Linked DNA regions of Homo sapiens: region 2 is linked to region 1. The links are contacts of gene promoters, found by promoter capture Hi-C in human tissues and cell types (Jung and others, 2019). All regions are on one chromosome and are shown on one strand. Each heading gives the region's core, a stretch centred on a gene start or on the middle of the fragment in contact. The rest is flanking DNA. Distances are from core to core; before and after follow the strand shown. Region 1 holds the start of CPO (carboxypeptidase O). Region 2 overlaps KLF7 (KLF transcription factor 7).

The links. The method cuts DNA at HindIII sites, captures the fragments that hold promoters and counts their contacts. A contact is called where the count stands out against the background at its distance.
Region 2: a contact is called between a fragment that was not itself captured here and the fragment with the promoter of CPO in region 1, in 1 of the 25 tissues and cell types used here (thymus).

What each region holds. Positions count from the first base shown.
Region 1 is chr2:206,938,092-206,941,054 of GRCh38, reverse strand. It overlaps CPO (carboxypeptidase O), which reads right to left and starts at 1,537. Exons shown (of 9, transcript NM_173077.3): 1 at 1,388-1,537. The coding sequence starts at 1,455. The HindIII fragment of the contact is 12,088 bases long and covers 1-2,963 here.
Region 2 is chr2:207,084,471-207,087,433 of GRCh38, reverse strand. All of the region lies in intron 3 of KLF7 (KLF transcription factor 7), which reads left to right. Among named protein-coding and RNA genes, the nearest start is that of MIR2355, 24 kb to the left of the region's middle. The HindIII fragment of the contact is 3,891 bases long and covers 1-2,963 here.

The DNA.
Region 1 (2,963 bases), core at 288-2,787:
TTTTTGTATTTCCTGTAAAATATGTAAGAGTCTTCATTTCCAATTTATGGATGAGGAATTTCAGAAAGGAAAATAAATGCCCTATGTACATGAAACCAAGTAAACTAATGGAAAAATGAGAAAGAAATATTCAAACAGGTTTTTGATATCACAGAGATCCTGGACTCTGTAAGTATCTGAAATTGAACTGAAGATAAGGAACAAGCTGAGGTCACACAATTATTGTGGGACAAAAATTGGAGTGGGTTTCTATGTTATGTGAGAGCAAGTTCATTGCAAGATTTCTTTAACCATGAAGCAAAAGAGGAAATACCAATTATAACCACATATACTTCATGAGATATGCTAAATGAGCAAAATAATGATTTGCATATGAACAAGGGAAAAACACACTTTATATGGAAACTATACACACACACATACACACACACAGATTTCAATAGAATGTATTTAGAGAACTTATGATTCATTAAGAGTAGGGAGAGACCACAAAAATGGGCAAATGACATTAATGGGCAATTTATAAAATGATAAAATTAGTAATAAAATATTTACTCTTATAAATCAACAAAATACAAAGGAAGTCAACAATGTGTATTTTTTACTTGTCAATTTGCCAAACACTTAAAAAGTGCTTTCATACACTGTTATTGGAAGTGTAGACTGATGTAATCTTTCTAGAGGGTAATTGGGCAATGTGTAGCAAGATCCTTACATTTTCCTCAGTTACTGACCCAGTAATTCCACTTCTTAGAGAAATAATTAAAGATTTGCAAAAAGCAAAAAAAATTATGTAGCTGGTTGCTCATCACAGCATTATTTGTAAAAATGAAAAAGCAGGAATTGACTAAATGACAGAATATTATTAGCAATTTCAACTGTTTTAAATAAATTGCTAATGCCATAGGAAAATTTCTGTAATACAATTTAAGTGAAATATTTCAGAAATAGTGCTGCATACATAATCAGGTAGCTATCTGAAAACATTAATAGTACTTATCTCTAGGTGAAATTATTTGGTCATTTTAACATTTTTCTTAATAATTAGGATAATGTGATTTACCAAATGAGATACTATGAAAATGAAGGATATAGAATTTGTATTACAATTTTCTTTTTCCAATCACAAAACATGACATGTCTATTTGTATATCTCATGCATTGTGTTAGGAAATGTTTGCTAGATATTTATTCATTTATTCAAGGATTATTAGAGGATTATGATTATTCAGTGATAAATTTCAGTGGTCTTTATTATTCTCATCTCATGGTGGTATATATGAGTAGCAAGGAAGGAGAAGCCAGCTGCATTGGTCTTAAAAAGAAACCATTCAATTTAGACAATCTAAATTATAATAATCAGTTCCTCTTCCCACTTTACACTCACCTATCATATCCCAGCCCTCCAGGAACCAGCATCCCCAAAAGATAAAGGGTTTCAAGCAGAGGCTTCATTCTGCCACACAGTAAGTTAGAAAATTCTGGGCCTCTCTGGCAGTGGATCAAGTGTCCTTGAGAATGAATGCATCAAGACTGTGGCTCCCACAATCAAGATGAGATAAATCAGTTAGTGGATGTCTCAGCAGAAAGTCACGGGCAATTGCTTTATTAACTCTCTCATGTCCTCAAACACCTTTTCCAGTGTGGGAAATGCTGTACCATTTGATATTTCATTTCTTCTCTAAAACCAAATTTACGTGAGCTCTCAACTTCACCAGATCCTGAAATAAATTTCCTCCCTATGTAAAGTCACCTTGGAGTATTTCTAGGAACCCCCATCACTCGTGCTCAGGAGCAATCATTCCTGCTCTTCCCCTCACACAGGTTGAATGGGAATAGTAGGCTAGTCTTTGTGAATCATGAGCCTGTTCATGAGACCAGAAAGAACACTCTGCTCTGGTCAAAATGGACATGGTCATTATTCAGAATCTCCACTTCCTCCTTCAATCTAAGGCTTTGATTGGGGTCAAATGCCTTCTCTTTTTCTGATGAACCACATCACCAGCTTCTTAAACAAACCCAGATCTCTTCAAATCTGAGCAGTGAAGACAGTTTCAATCCTTTCCCATGTGGATTTTACCCCACGCCCCTCTTACATGAAGGACTCTGTCAGATACTCCGCCATGTTTTCAGACATAGCCAAGTTATGCTTGAATCTCATTGACCAGTAAAATTAAAGACTCATGTTAAGACCATTGCTAATAGTCTAACTGAGCAAGGCAAACTTTAGCGCAGAGCAGGTAGAGTATTTAAATGGAGTCCTTGGCATTTAGGGACCCAGTTTAAATCTTCTGCCCTGTATTCATGTATTCATTCTACAAAAATCTCATGAGTACCACTGTATACCAGACACTATGCTAGATACTTAAGATACAAGGGTGAACAAGGCAGAGTCCCTTCTTTTATGGAACTCACAGTAGAGTTGAGAGAAAAATAAACGAGTATACAAACAAATGTTACAGTTTCAAGTAAAGAGAATGCAGTTAAAAAACTAGAGGAGATAAGCGCTTCCATGCTGTCTCCAGGCATGCCATCCACCCAGTCCCTCCATGTGTTTAGCAACCCAGAGGCTCTCCAAACTCTGTTCCCTTGTGTTTTTATGAAGACTTCATTACATAGGTATGATTGATCATATCATTGGTCATTGGTGATTAAATAAATCTCCAGTCCCTCTTTCCTCCCCAGAGATGGGAGGGGATTACTGAATAACATGGCTGATTCTCCTGGCAACCAGCCGCTATCCTTAGAAACTTTCCAAAAGTTACCTGTTCACTTAAACTTAGACATAGTCAAAAGGGACGTCATGAATAACAAAAATGGCCCTTTCACCTTTATTGATCTTATCACTGAGGAAATTCCAAGGGTTTTAGGAGCTCTGTGTCAGGAACCAGGGACAAAGACAAAATATGTATTTCCTATTGTATCACAATATCACGATGGTGTTTAAAGCCACTGGGCTAGAG
Region 2 (2,963 bases), core at 282-2,781, 150 kb before region 1:
GGCTTCCTCTGTAGTAGTGTTTGGTGAATAGGGAAGGGGTGTCCAGACTGGTCACGTTGGCTTAGTGCTCCCTTAGGATGCTTATAAAGGAGCAGTTATGTTTTTCTTCCTTTTTTTTTCCTTCTTCCTGGGAAGCTATTTTCCTCTTATCTTCATTCTCTAAGTACTAAATAAAGACCCCATGCGTCCTGGAGCCCAGAGATAACCTCCCACTCCAGGGCTGAGGAAGTGTACTTTATGCAGTTATTGTCTCCCATTCCCTTGGAACTCTGTTCTGCTACCCAAGAATACAAGTTATTATTACATTTCCATCCATTACCTAGAAGTCCTCCTGTATTTACATGAATCAGCAGCTGTCTTCTACAGAGTATGCTCCAGGAGAGTTTCTCCTTATTCCCCATCTTCCTTCTATTTCCATCTCAAGTTTCTCTGCTTTGTGCCTCTCTCACTCTGGCTAATAAAGAAGCCCTGCAGATGGTGACTCTCTGTCCATAGTCTTTTGAAGGAGAGTGTTCTGTTACATCAACTGGGACCAAGGTGAATTCTTTGTGAGTGGTCAGAGTGTGATGGTAGCGTGTACACACAAGTTGCCCAGCTCTGAAGGGTGTGGAGGCTGTTACTTGGAGATTGTGAGCATTATGGGTAGCCGTAATTATTGGATGTGGACAAAGAGTTCTTATGGGGAAATTGCCAAAGTTAGTATTCCACTCTTCAAATCAACTGACTTATTGATTTACAACCTTCCAGCAGTTGATGTATTTGGATTTAATCTGGTCTTTTGTATGATTTACGTGGAGAAATGTTCCAAACCGATTGGTTATTTCACTGAAAGAGATGTCAGAGATGGGTGATTTGGTTAGTCTTTTGCTTTGTTTTCTTCTTTAAAATACACTACAGTTTCTGGAGCTAGAAATTTGCTGAGCAGATGGTACAAATTCTGCAACATGGTATTTGTGGGAGATTGAGTAGATCAGCGTCCCGCGACACAGGCCAATAGTGCATTTTCGACAGCATCATAAATGAGAGTTTGTATTCCCATTAGTGTCTCATGACAGGCAGCACCTTGGCGTTTCAATTACGGTGACTGTGCTAAGAATAGCCAGGCCTGGGAGGCAACATGGGGAACTGGAGTGGTCCCAAAGCAGATGAAAGGAAAGCCTGGAGTGACCGGGAGTTGGCATTCCTTAGAAGATGTTTACCTTCAGAAACAGAGGGCATCTGTAGCCCTTGGCAGGACATGGCATCCTGTTGGTACCGCAGTATATATGAGTGCACCACCTCTTGTCTCTTAAAATTTGAACAATTACACTGCCCTATTTAGAAGTTAAGTAGGGTTTAGACTTCCTTTCCTTAAGCATGTACCAAGTCTAACGTATGCTTTTATTTTGCCTATAGGGTAGTTTTAAAAAATTCATGACGTTTTTGGTTTGGTTTTTTTTTTTTTTTTGGCCAACATTTAAAATCGTTAAATGTCACACAAAAAAGTTTGTATTTCTGGCTTTGTCTGGAAAAATCAGATCTGGCCACAGTGGGCTCACATTCCCATGTGGCTGTAATTGGATGTAGCTGAAGAGCAATCATTACCCATTTGCCATAGCCATGTGATGACTATGTTTCCACTGTTCCCATCACTCCCTGTGGCTCCACAACTCAAAGGCAAGCCATTGGTTGCCAAGTATTGTCCCGCTTTCTGTTGTTTCTTCTTACAAGAAGAGCTATACTTCTTTGTATCCATGCCTTATCGGAAGTGGAAACAGATAGCCCAAGAGTGCTGTGTTTCTTACACTTGACCCACGGCACATACTTTATCTGCCTGGCCTTGCAGACACTGGGTTTTGTGACTTCTGGCTTCATGTTTGGGTTAGGAAAGAAAGCACAGTAGTAGTGCCATTTCTTCACCATCTGACTGGACAGTGCAGCCCCCCTGAGTGACCAGTGGCTAGAGGGATAAGTGGTTTTTCAACCCACAGAGTTGGAGGCTGCTGATGGTGGTAGATAGGGCTCAGTTTCCATCAGTGGTAACATGCAGGCCCTCATTCTACCGACTGACTCAGTGCAGTTATAATCCAGGGAGACAGCTACTAGCATAGTACATTCCAGTTCTTGGGCAGTTTAGAGGGTGCATTTTGATCTTTATGTCAGCCCACTTATAAGTGGTAAGAAATACCAGCCCGTATCTTAGCCTCTTGGTCACCTAGGAGATTGCTGTTGACTTAATCCCTATGTGACGTTAGTGTGCCTTTTTTTTTTTTTTTTTTTTTTTTTTTTTCATTTGAGACAGTCTGGCTTTGTTGCCCAGGCTGGAGTGCAGTGGTGCGATCTCGGCTCACTGCAACCTCTGCCTCCGGGGTTCAGGCGATTCTCCTGCCTCAGCCTCCTAAGAAGCTGGGATTACAGGTACCTGCCACCATGCCTGGCTAATTTTGTAGTTTTAGTAAAGACAGAGTTTTGCCATGTTGGTCAGGCTGGTCTTGAACTCCTGACCTCAAGTGATCCACCCACCTCAGCCTCCCAAAGTGCTGGGATTACAGGCGCGAGCCACGACGCCTGGCCTAGTGTGCCTTTTTCATAAACGAGAGAAATGACTGTGGGGTTGACTAGTTCTCCATTATGTACAAATTTCAGTAATTAAGGACCTTCTTATTTAAGGTCACCTGGCTGCTGTAAAGTTATAAATACCCTCTAGGGGTATATTACTCTTAAAATTATTTGATTCTGCACTTCTAGATGCCAAGTTTATCTATTACCTTTTACTATTCCTATGTGGAATTCAGTAAGTATAAATTAATAAGTATAAGTTAATCATGACTAAGTACCTTGCTGGGGTATTGAATTTAAATAAAAACCTCAATAGTAAGGGACCTGGTCTAATCCTGAGCATCATACATTTTTTTTTTGGAATTTGAACAAATAATGATGCTCATTTGATTCAGTAGGGGTGCAGTTACATTTCCTACCATGTT